Linked DNA regions of Homo sapiens: region 1 is linked to region 2. Evidence: promoter capture Hi-C in 16 types of primary human blood cells and fetal thymus (Javierre and others, 2016). All regions are on one chromosome and are shown on one strand. Each heading gives the region's core, a stretch centred on a gene start or on the middle of the fragment in contact. The rest is flanking DNA. Distances are from core to core; before and after follow the strand shown.

Region 1 (5,516 bases), core at 2,979-5,478, 1.1 Mb before region 2:
GGGCAGGAGGATCCAGCTGTGGGAAATGAGGACAGGGCGAGAGGATAGTCAGACTGACTGCCACCTGTGTCTCTTCTCAGGGCCCTCTGCATCCAGGCCAAGGCCTGGAGGCCCTTCCAAAGTCTCTGTGTCCACTGGTTGCTAAGGGTAGAAGAGAGGACCTGGCAGGAGTGACGCTGGCAGAGGAGGGCTTGGGTTGCTCCGTGTTGCCTAGACCTTGTCCACGCTAGTCTCTTTCAGGGCACTCTTGGGAGAAGCCCCCGTGTCTTCCAAATTCCAGCAACCTGCCCATCTGACTTCCTGTTACAGTCCCTCTCTGGAGTGGGCAGACACCCCAGGGGTCTTCTTTCTAGAGTTACAGAGTAGGGAGCGAGCCCCTCAGCCCTTGGAAAACTGGAGAGACTGTGTGCTTGGTGCATGAAGTCATGTCTGTGAGCAGAGGATATTAACAGGTTTTCTCCAAGAAGGGGTTGCCCACACACGCAGGAGCCACTCGGCTCTCCAGGATCGCAGCCTGACTGCAGCTGTCTCTCCCTGTGGAACTCAGAGTCTCCAAGCCTGGCTCTGATTGTGGCTGGATGTTATGTATAAGGAAAGCATTCCAGTGCCGAACACCAAGGGGGTGGCTTGGCTTGTTAAAAACTCTGACTCACGCTGGTCATATTTTTTTACTTGGTTTTCACTTGTACCTGACATCCATGGTAGCTGTATACCAGAGAGGTGTTGTAGCTTACATTGTTGAGACAATTTCTCCAGAGCATTTTTATAAGAAGTTGGAATAGACAATCATTTCCATATTGCAGCTAACGAAACTGAAGGGTAGGAAGACTTACCTCAAGCCATAGTTGGCAGGCCTGGATTTCTGGCTCCCAGCCCTGTACTTTCAGAGGAAAAACCAGGAATCATCAATTCTAGACATCTCAAGTACTTTTCTCAAGGGAGAAGAAAAATAACTCTACTGCCATTTATAAATTGCAAAATGAACCAATTTCTAGCTAAGAGCATTGTTGTTCTTCACAGTTACTGCTAAAACGAAAGCATAGGGGTTCAGGGACTGCACTTTGGAGTAGGCTCCCCTAGGTTCAGTTCCAATTTTTCCCCTCACAAGCTATGCAATCTTACATAAATTATTTAATTTCTTGGTGTCTCAGATTCTTCAGCTGTGAAATATGAACATATTTAAGCATAGTATCTGTTCTGTGGTGAGCCCTCAGTAAATATTGGCTATTGTTATTACAGATCGAGCATCCCTAATCTGAAAATCCAAAATCCAAAATTCCCCCACATCCAAAACCTTTTGAGCACTATCCTGACTCTCAAAGGAAATGCTCATTGGATAATTTCAGATTTGGGATTTTCGGATTAGGAATGCTCAACCAGTGTAATGCAAACATTCCAAAATGTGAAAACATCCTAAATCTGAAACACTTGCCCTTCCCAAAAACTAAGTTGCATTCAATATTCTAGATATTTGCATTATTATATGCATTCAGGGGATACTGAAGGGACATAAATGTAGGGACATAAAAAAATTTCAAATAAAAAAATGGTCATTAGCAGATTATGTAAAACCATCTGCTGCTAGAAAGCCATTAAAATTGATGACCACGTCCAGTCCCTAAAAGGGGGGAACCACATTTTTAAGTGAGTTTATCCCAGTAGGCCGTTAGGAGGTTCTCTCTCATTTTTATGTTAACTAAAATGATGTTTCTAGCTTAAAAGAAGACTCTGAAACCTAAGAAAAGAGTGATGGAATTGCCTGGGAACATGTTCCATATCTTACCCCAGCTAGAATGACTATTATCAAAGGGAGAAAGAATAGCAAATGCTGGCAAGGATCTGGAGAAAGGGGAAGCCTCGTACACTATTGGTGGGAATATAAAGTAGTACAGCCACTATGGAGAACAGTATGGCAGTTCCTCAAAAAATAAATATAGAGCTATCATCCAGCATTCCCACTGCTGGGTATATATCCAAAAGAAAGGAAATCAGTAAATCAAAGAGACATCTGCACTCCCATGTTTATTGCAGCACTTTTCATAATAGCCAACATATGGAGTCAACCTAAGTGTCCATCAGCAGATGGATGGATGAAGAAAATGTGGTACATATACACAATGGAATATTACTCAGCCATAAAAAGAAAGAAATCCTGTCATTTGTAGCAGCATGGATGGAACTAGAGGCCATTGTGTTAAGTGAAACAAGCCAAGCACAGGAAGAGCAGATATCACATGATCTCACTCATGTGGGAACTGAATAAGTGGATCTCATGGAGGCCGAGGGTAGACTGATGGTTACTGGAGGCCGCAGAGTGTAGGGGGTTGGGGAGATAAAGAGAAGCTGCTTAATGGGTACAAAAATACAGTTAAATAGAAGGAAGAAATTCTTGTATTCTATAGAACAGTAGGAAAATTATATTTAGCAATAATTTTTATATATTTCAAAGTAGCTAGGTGAGAAGAATTGTAACTTCCCAACACAAAGATAAATGTTTGAGGTGATGGATATCTCAGTGACACTGATTTGATCCTTACACATTGTATACATGCATTGAAATAGCATATGTACCCCCAAAATGTGTACAACTATTATGTATCAGTAAGATATTAATAAATAATTTTAAATACTTTTTAAATTTTTAAAAATGAAGGTGTCCCAGGGAAAGTACTTGTGGTAGCATGTCACAGAGATCACTGGCATCCCAAAGGCCAGCTATTCATGATGAAAATGTAATTTCAAAATGTTTTCTATTTTTCAAATCAAAGGCAATAGGACTCGGAAAGCATGAGGGCTTTGGGAAGTAGGTCGTATGTTTGTCACACCTGCTCCTGTGGGAAGGAGAAGGCTCTACAGTAACCATCTTGGAATTTAAAATGTGGCTGTAAATTAATTATTACATTCAGCAGCTATTTTTTGAGGGTCAGACCATAAGAAGGATAAAGTATCCTTGGAAGCCACAGGTGGCCTTATGGCATGCGGAGTATTAGAGCCAGATTTGGAACTGGATCCGGCACGCCCAGGGAACCTTTCCTCTTGTAGAATTTCTTCTGCTTTTCCCTTCAGCTTCAGCAAGCAATGTTCATTTGGAGCTGGGCTGAGTCACGGGCCCACACATACAAAACAGAGGCTGGCTGAGAAGTGGCCTCAAAGTTGAAGCTGCTAGGGCAGCTTCAGGTTGTTTTTGCCGTGAGCTCTGGGATTCTGATAGCCTAAGAATGAAATATTGTTCAAAAAAGCACACTTTCCTGAAAAGCTCATTATTTCAGAAGGATAAGGATTGTTGCCTGAGGGAGCAGACAGTTTCATTTACAGTGGGGAACAACTCTGGCCTCCTCAAACCTCTGTGCCCCTGTCCAGTGAGCCTCCTGCCTCCTCACGAGCCTCCCTCTTTCACATATTCCAGGGTGTCTCGGGGTGCGAAGCAACCATCCTCATGTGCTTGGCTTTGGAGAGCACAGCTATGTAGTTGCTTTGTGGATGTTTGCTGAGACCTGTTTCCAGCATATATCTCTAAGCAAAGATGGGTGATGACAGCCAGCAAGCCTGGAACTGATTTGATTTTCTCTGTCTTATCTACTAATCCAATGCACACTGACTAAGAATTCTGCCTTGTGCAGGGCATGTTCTAGAGAGGATGAATAAGGTTTGTCAACTTGAAATCTATAATGAGAGACTAATATGAGAACCTGCAAAAGCACAAAATGGAAAAGAGCAGGACACAGCCAGATCATGGTGAATTCCCAGGTGGCTGGAGCATAGGATGGATAAAGATTTTGGGGGAAACTGTTCTGTAGGCTGTGACTTCATGATAGATCTGCAAACGGCATCATGTAGCAATTGTGGCAGTAGCAATGAGAGGCAATGGGCATGTTCTGCAGCAAGGGGGTCCACCAGGAGACATTCCATGAAGGAACTGAATATGGTGTTGTTGCTGCCGCCCTGCATTCAGCTCGCTTCTGTGGGGTGGTCAAATAGAAGTGTGGGATGGGAATTGGGGCTGCAGGCCAGGGCATCCTGCCTACAGCCATCTTGACTCTCAGACCTCCATTTGTAAAACAGAAATAATAGTCCTTGCTTACCTAACCACGTTGTTTTGAGAAGCCAATAAGATGATGGAAGTGAGAGCTTTGAAAACATTGCAACACAGTGAATGACTTTTTTTTTTCTTTTTCAACTTTCATTTTAGAATCAGGGGGTACATGGGCAGGTTTGTTACAAAGGTACATTGAGTGATGCCGAGATTGGGGGTATGACTGAACCTGTCACTGAGGTAATGAATATAGTATCCAATAGTTAGTTTTTCAACACCTGTGCCCCTCTAGTAGTCCCCAGTATCTATCATTCCCATCTTTATGTCCATGTGTACCCAATATTTAGCTCCTACTTATAAGTGAGAACATGCGGTATTTGATGTTCTGTTCCTGTGATAGTTTGCTTAGGATAATGGCCTCCAGCTGCATTCATGTTGCTGCAAAGGGCATGATTTTGTTCTTTTTTATGGCTGCATAGTATTCCATGGTGTATATGTACCACATTTTCTTTATCCTATCTACCATTGATGGGCACCTGGGTTGATTCCATACCTTTGCCGTTGTGAATAGTGCTGCAGTGAACATGTACCCTTTTGACAGAATGACTTATTTTCCTTTAGGTATTTACCCAGCAATGGGATTGCCGGGTCGAGTGGTAGTTCAACTCAGTTGTTTGAGTCATCTCCAAACTGCCTTCTGCAGTGGCTGTACTGATTTACATTCGCAACATTGTATAAAGTGTCCCCTTTACTCCCAGCCTTGCCAACATCTGTTATTTTTGACTTTTTAACAAAAGCCATTCTGACTGGTATGAGATGGTATCTCATTGTGGTTTTGATTTGCATTTCTCTGATGATTAGAGATGACGAGCATTATTTCATGTTTGTTGCTCGCTTGCATGTCTTCTTTGGAGAATTGTCTGTTTATGTCTTTTGCCCACTTTTTAATGGAGTTATTTGCCTTTTGCTTGTTGATTTGTTTAAGTTCCTTACAGATTCTGGATATTAGACCTTTGGTGAAAGACATTTTTAAAACAATAAAGTGTTGAGGTAGTGGGGCCAACAACACTATTATTTTTAATATGATATCATTTCTCACATTACCACATCCATTCCCTCATGAAATTATTCTTTTAGAGAAAAGGGAAAGGGAGGAGGTGGTAGAGCTAGAACAGCAGGAAATAAATACCCACCTCAGGACTGCAGAGCAGCAAGGCCTCAGGGCCCTGAAAAGAACGCTGAGGCCAGGTCCGGGTGGGGCAGGAAGCAGAGCAGCCTCGCCTGTGGCTCCTACTAGGTCTGTAAACTGCCAGATCTGCCCGCAAACCACCATCAGCAACCCAGAGGCGCCCCAGGAAGCACCCTGAATGCCAGGCCCAGGGGTTCCCCACAGAGGCGGGGCACCAGCCCCCACCCTCCCTATTAATGGGAGTGGTTTCCAGGTGACTCATATGAGTAAAATGCAAAAAATGAAATAGAGACC
Region 2 (5,610 bases), core at 2,897-5,396:
CAAACACCAAAATTCCTAATTTGGATTACCAGGCCTTGCAAGATCTGGACCACGATTACTTGCACAGCCTTGTTTCATCTGCGCTTTTCCCCAGGCACTTTCTCTTCCAATACTACCAAGTCTCTCTGGGTTCCCACAATAGACCTTGCCTTCTCTGGCCCTAGTTCCTTCAACATGTTTCCTCTCTGAACTTCATTTTCCCCCTTAGGCTTTTCTTTTCCTAACTTTTACTTACCCTTCTAGTCTCTGCTTAAAGCTCACTTCTTCAGTGTGGCAGAGGCTGTTGCTTTGTATCAAAATCAATAGTTCACTTAGATTTATTTGGAATGACTACGGCAACAGAACAAAAGAAAAGTAAGTGCTTTGTGTTTAGTAAAAAGGTACTACATTTTAGTACCTGCACATAACAGTCTATAGGTCTATAAAGCTTAGAATTAAGAAAACTATACCTTGAGGAGTTTCCAGGATAAGAAAAAGTTAAAATTAACAAAGCAGAGATCAATATGAAACATAAACAATATGCCAGCAAAGGCTGAAGGAAAACGGGACTTAAGTAAGGCAACAGCAGTTTGGAGAATGGAAGATGGAGGAGGCTCTTTCAGAAGAATGAGATGACTTTTGCTATGCTAGTATGCCAAAGGATGTGGAAAAATAAAAAACCGTGTAGAGTAAGGAGATATATTTAACTGGAGCAGAAGACACTAGCAAAAAAGTACTGGAACTCTTACAGATAAAAGGGACCTTAAAGATTCTAAAACCCCCTAATTCCGAGATGAGAAAAAGGCGATCCAGGCCAGGCATGGTGGCTCACGCCTGTAATCTCAGCACTTTGGGAGGCCGAGGCAGGTGGATCACTTGAGGTCAGGAGTCTGAGACCAGCCTGGCCAACATGGCAAAACCCTATCTCTACTAAAAATACAAATATTAGCCAGGCATGGTGGTGCGTGCCTGTAGTGCCTGTAGTCCTAGCTACTTAGGAGGCAGAGGTATGAGAATCACTTGAACCCACCACTGCACTCCAGCCTGAACCCACCACGGCACTCCGACCTGGGCGACAGGGCGAGATCTTGTCTCAAATAAAAAAAAAAAAAAAAAAAAACAGATCCAAAAAGGCCAAACGAGTTTTACCCAGCGCTAATGAGTAGCAATGCTGGCAAAGGTCTTCTCATTCTTTTTCCTTAAGCACTCTGGGAAAGCACTGTACCAGGTACCCTTAAAGAATCTAAAAGAAATGTAAGTTTCCTTACCTTCAAAAAACTTAAAATGTTGCTGAAATGATATAACACATGAAAAAGAAAGAAAAATATGAAAACAGGATGTAAATTTTTCAAGTGCCAAATTATGCACTACAGGAATATATTAGGCATTTAGGAGCTGGGTTCCAACAACTAAAGGGAAGATCAGGAACAAAAACAAAAGGAACCAAAAGACAAACCAGTGATTGTTGAAGTGGTACTTAAAGGAAAATAATCTTGATGACTTGTGTTCAGAATGGCACAAAGGGAGAGGAAGGGAAGATAACGGGAGGAATAATAGTAAATTTTTTTTAAAAAGACCTAAAAAATACAGACTGCTGTTATACACTCATGCAGGTGGCAGATCAAGCAGCTCATGTTTGCAAAATTACTTCAAATTACAAGACCAGTTACAATATATAACTAACAAGCTGCACAAGTTCCAAGTGTAAGAACTTTACAAGGCCGGTATGACTCACTGATTTGTACCAACAAATCATTGATGGAGCTGTGCTTATAAAAACAAAAGCACAGAATGAAAGAAGTTTATTTTCCAAAGAATTGTGAACTTTGAGATTATCTCTTCTTTTTTTTTCTTTTAGAAGGAAGTTCTGGTTTGGTTTGAAGTCTCAAGTTACCAACGAACTTGCTCAAAAAACCACAAAACTACAGTGTCGAGAGATAAACTATTCATGAAGGTATCACCAGCAAAAGTTCTACTTGCCAACCAGAGCCAGTATATTTATAAGATCTCATTCACCATTTTATTCTAAGATACTTTACTGGCTTGGCTGCCTCCAGTTCCAACCGCAAGTACTTTACTAAAATATCTTTCAAGCCAGGAACAGTATCTTAAAGTCAATGCCACCCTTCATCATAACAGTATTATAACACAGAACCCTGAGATAATTACATGTAAAGATCCAAAATCACCAGCTGAATAATGAAAATTAGGTCAAATGATTTGTTAGATTTTAAAATGTTTTATAGAAAGCTTTAGGCTTCCATATGAAAAAAGCTAGTAATAGTTTGCATTCTCTATAATCTTACAAAAAAAAAAAAAAAACCCACAGACCAGAGATCAAAAATAGCTTTACACAAACAAAAGGAAAATTGTAGGTTTGCTGAGGGCATCAGCCACTTAATTTAACCCTATTTCATCAAGAGCGGGAAGCCACACTGCTGTTTTCACCAGTTACTAAGAAACAAGATAAAGGACAGATTGGGACAGAGAGTCTATAGCTGAAAGTATTATGTTGATGCAATTACTGAGAATTCCCAAAGTGTCACTAATAGACAAGAAAGAGCATCTAGGACTGCCTCTAAATGAGTCTACCTACAACAGAATCAGTGATTAAGTAAAGAAAAGACTTACTGGAGCTTGGGGGTTTTCCCCCCCTCTTCCCTACCCGCATCCTCCCATCCTGAACCCCCCTCCCCAAGTAGGAAAGAAAGCTCGCCCAGCATAAACACAGGCCATTGCTCACAGCTCGTCACCACAACAAACTGGAGGTTAGACCAACGCTCCTGGAGACGGAACTCCACGTCTTGGTTGCTAAGCACAAAAAGGGGACTCTTCCCCACAGACCTGTGAACAGTGTGGGCCTTACCAGAATTTTGGTTGTTTCTCCACCTTCCCCCTCCCTTTTGTTTTTTTAACGAAAGCTTTGAAAGTGGTGGCAGCAAAAGTTTCCCTTTGGGCCAGACCTCTAGATCTCCCTTGTACAGATATACATTAGGTGGGCTGGTCTCACGTAGTCTCCACCGTCATTACGAATTACAAGCCTAACGACTACAGAACATCAGCGGAGACGACAGAAAAGCTTCCACACCCACCCCACTGTCGTCCTCTCCAGGCACGGCTTCCTGGTCCCAAACAGCACAAATAACCCAAAACCATGGTGATAAGCGGAGCTGTGAAGTACACACGCACAAGCCACACACTGGGAACCTGCCACGACAGCCGGGGAAAAAACCGGCCGAGTGAGGAGACGCAAGGCGGTCCCCTGTCACTTAAGGACAACACGCCCAGGCGAGAAGTGGCAGGAGGCAGGGGGAGTTGCCCCGAAAACCAGCCCGGAGCCTCCCCACCTTCCTGGGAAGGCAATCCCCTCAGCGGCAGTGAGCGGCCGGGCCGCAAGACGCGGCGCCCGGTCCCAGGCAGGGGCCCTTTGAGGAAGGCGCCCCCGGCAGGCTGGGCGCTCCAGGAGAGCCGGCGGCCGGCCCGGCCCCGCCTCAGGGAGCTGAGGGGAAGTCGCTCCCCGCCGAGGACCCCTCCTGCCCGTCCCCACTCACCGCCGGTGTGTCTGGTTCTCAGCCGCGAGCTGGGGCTGCCGTGAGGAGGCGGCGGAGGAGACGAGATCTGGGGCCCCGCAGCCGGGTCATCATACCCCCCGCGCGAGCCGGCCCGGGCCCCGGCCCCCGCCCCCCGGAGCCGTCCCCGCGCCCGTCCCGCAGGGGGAGCCTCCTCAGCCTCCCTCCCGCTCCACCACCCAGCCCCTTCCCGCCGCCGCCGCCGCCGCCTCAGCCCCGCGCGCTCCCGCCTCGGCCTCCTGCTGCCGTCCGGGGCTACCGCCGGGCCCCTTGCTCCGCAGCCGCCGTTGTCGCCAGACCCGACGAACGGAATGCCGAGCGGCCGTCCCTCAACCCGGCCGGCCCCGCCTCGCCGGAACTATTCACCCGCCCCGCGCCATGACACCTACTGAGGCGGAAGTGCAGCTGAATGGACTCTCTAGGACGATCGCATAGTACTGATTGCAGTAGGAGTCGGTGGGCCTCGAGTAGGTGGGCCTCCGTAGGGAGCCAGCGTGGATCGAGTGCGGGGCCTGGACTTCCCGCCCCCTCCGCACTGCAGACTCTGCGGTGATTTAAAGGTGCCTGGCGGTGGTACGGGATCCAACTGTAAAATGTCATCCCAGCTAGTGTGACATCACCACAGTTTAGTGTGACACCCCCAGAGCTTGGGCAGTGTACGGGACGACAGTGCCTAGCAGAGGAGCTTCACTGCCGGTGAGGGATTACCTCAGGTTAGGCTTTAATGTTTCGTTGCCGTCTAGAGACGTTCTAGCAATGTGACATCTGTGTACCATATCTGGAAGTCTCCCTGTACGTCAAGAGCCCCTTAGGGGAGTCTCCCATTGCCGCCGTGGGAACCTGTGTTTACATTACGAGGAGAGAGAATAGCTGTACTCTGAACTCAAACGCTCAAAACATGCAGTGAGCGAATGCTAGCATAATTTTCTTGCCTCTACCAGAAGGAAGGCTGGGTATTTAGGAAACAGAACGCGTTGGGCACAACATTCTGAGAAAATGGACACAGAAAATTAGGTTATCCTAATAGAAAAGCAGTTGCATCTCCCAAAGTCAAGAGATTCTGTAGGACTTCCGATGTATCTCCTGCTGTGTAAAATATTCAGGTTCCTGAAGTGGGGGACATTTTTAGGGCAACTGTAATTTCTTCATTTTTTCCATCCCACAAGTGCTGGAGGCAGCAGTGATCTGAGCTCTAGAAAGTGACTGTCCGTCACCATCGGTATTTGCATATACTCTGTGAGGAGAAGGGCAGTTGTGGCTAAGACAAAATTCTACTATCAAGTTTTGTTTCTCAAATCTCACTCATTAACATCTTTGATTTCCTTGGATCCCCATAACACACACAGAAAACTATGATTTGTGTAAAATGCGCTGAAGTACCTTTTAAGGGAAGTCATTTGGCTTTCTCTCTGGCTTAACAACACGGGGAGCAGTTCCATTTTATCTGGAACAGGGAAGTTTATTTCCCTAGAGAACTAGGGTTACCAAAAATGTTCGATCCCACAAGGCAGTTTTGTTTGCATATTTTCACAGAAACTTCCTTCTACTACTTAAAGTCCTCACATTGGGCTGACCTGGGAAACATGAAGATAAAAAGAGTGGGTAAACATGCCTGCTTGATGAGCCAGAAAAAAAGGCAGAAACCTGTGGTCTGGGTAGAACAGATCCTGCTCAGAATGTAAGCTTCAAACATGTTTATCATGCCTTGGTTCAACCTAACTCTCTGACATGTTCCTAAACTCCTGCTCTCTCAAGTTATGTCCCTTTCCTCTTTTCAAATATCTCTCAGAATTCACCCTTTCGGGAACCTTTGCTGATTGACTCCTATTTTATTTGAATTCTGCATCATCATCTGATTACTTAAATTAACCTGTACCTTCTTTATTTATACTTGTTAACTTCTATTTTCATTGCTCTTAGGTCCTCAGTCTTTCTCACTATACGGAGAGCTTCTTAAAGTCTGTATTTTCTCCTCTTTAGTATCATTCACTCATTCATCCAGCAAACTGCTTGTGTGCCTGCTCTGTGCTATACACTCTTCTAGACACTGGGTCAGGTATGA

Evidence for each region. The method cuts DNA at HindIII sites, captures the fragments that hold promoters and counts their contacts. A CHiCAGO score of 5 or more calls a contact.
Region 1: a contact is called between a fragment that was not itself captured here and the fragment with the promoter of HIPK1 in region 2, in 1 of 17 cell types (naive CD8 T cells). The highest score is 6.0, in naive CD8 T cells.

What each region holds. Positions count from the first base shown.
Region 1 is chr1:115,062,711-115,068,226 of GRCh38, reverse strand. The region is part of intron 2 of TSPAN2 (tetraspanin 2); the gene reads left to right. Among named protein-coding and RNA genes, the nearest start is that of TSPAN2, 24 kb to the left of the region's middle. RefSeq lists an enhancer at 5,372-5,516. The HindIII fragment of the contact is 8,678 bases long and covers 1-5,516 here.
Region 2 is chr1:113,927,860-113,933,469 of GRCh38, reverse strand. HIPK1 (homeodomain interacting protein kinase 1) reads right to left here and starts at 4,146. Exons shown (of 16, transcript NM_198268.3): 1 at 3,938-4,146. It overlaps HIPK1-AS1 (HIPK1 antisense RNA 1), which reads left to right and starts at 3,945. Exons shown (of 3, transcript NR_110726.1): 1 at 3,945-4,108; 2 at 5,082-5,226. RefSeq lists silencers at 3,416-3,725, 3,746-3,795 and an enhancer at 3,916-4,235. The HindIII fragment of the contact is 2,173 bases long and covers 3,061-5,233 here.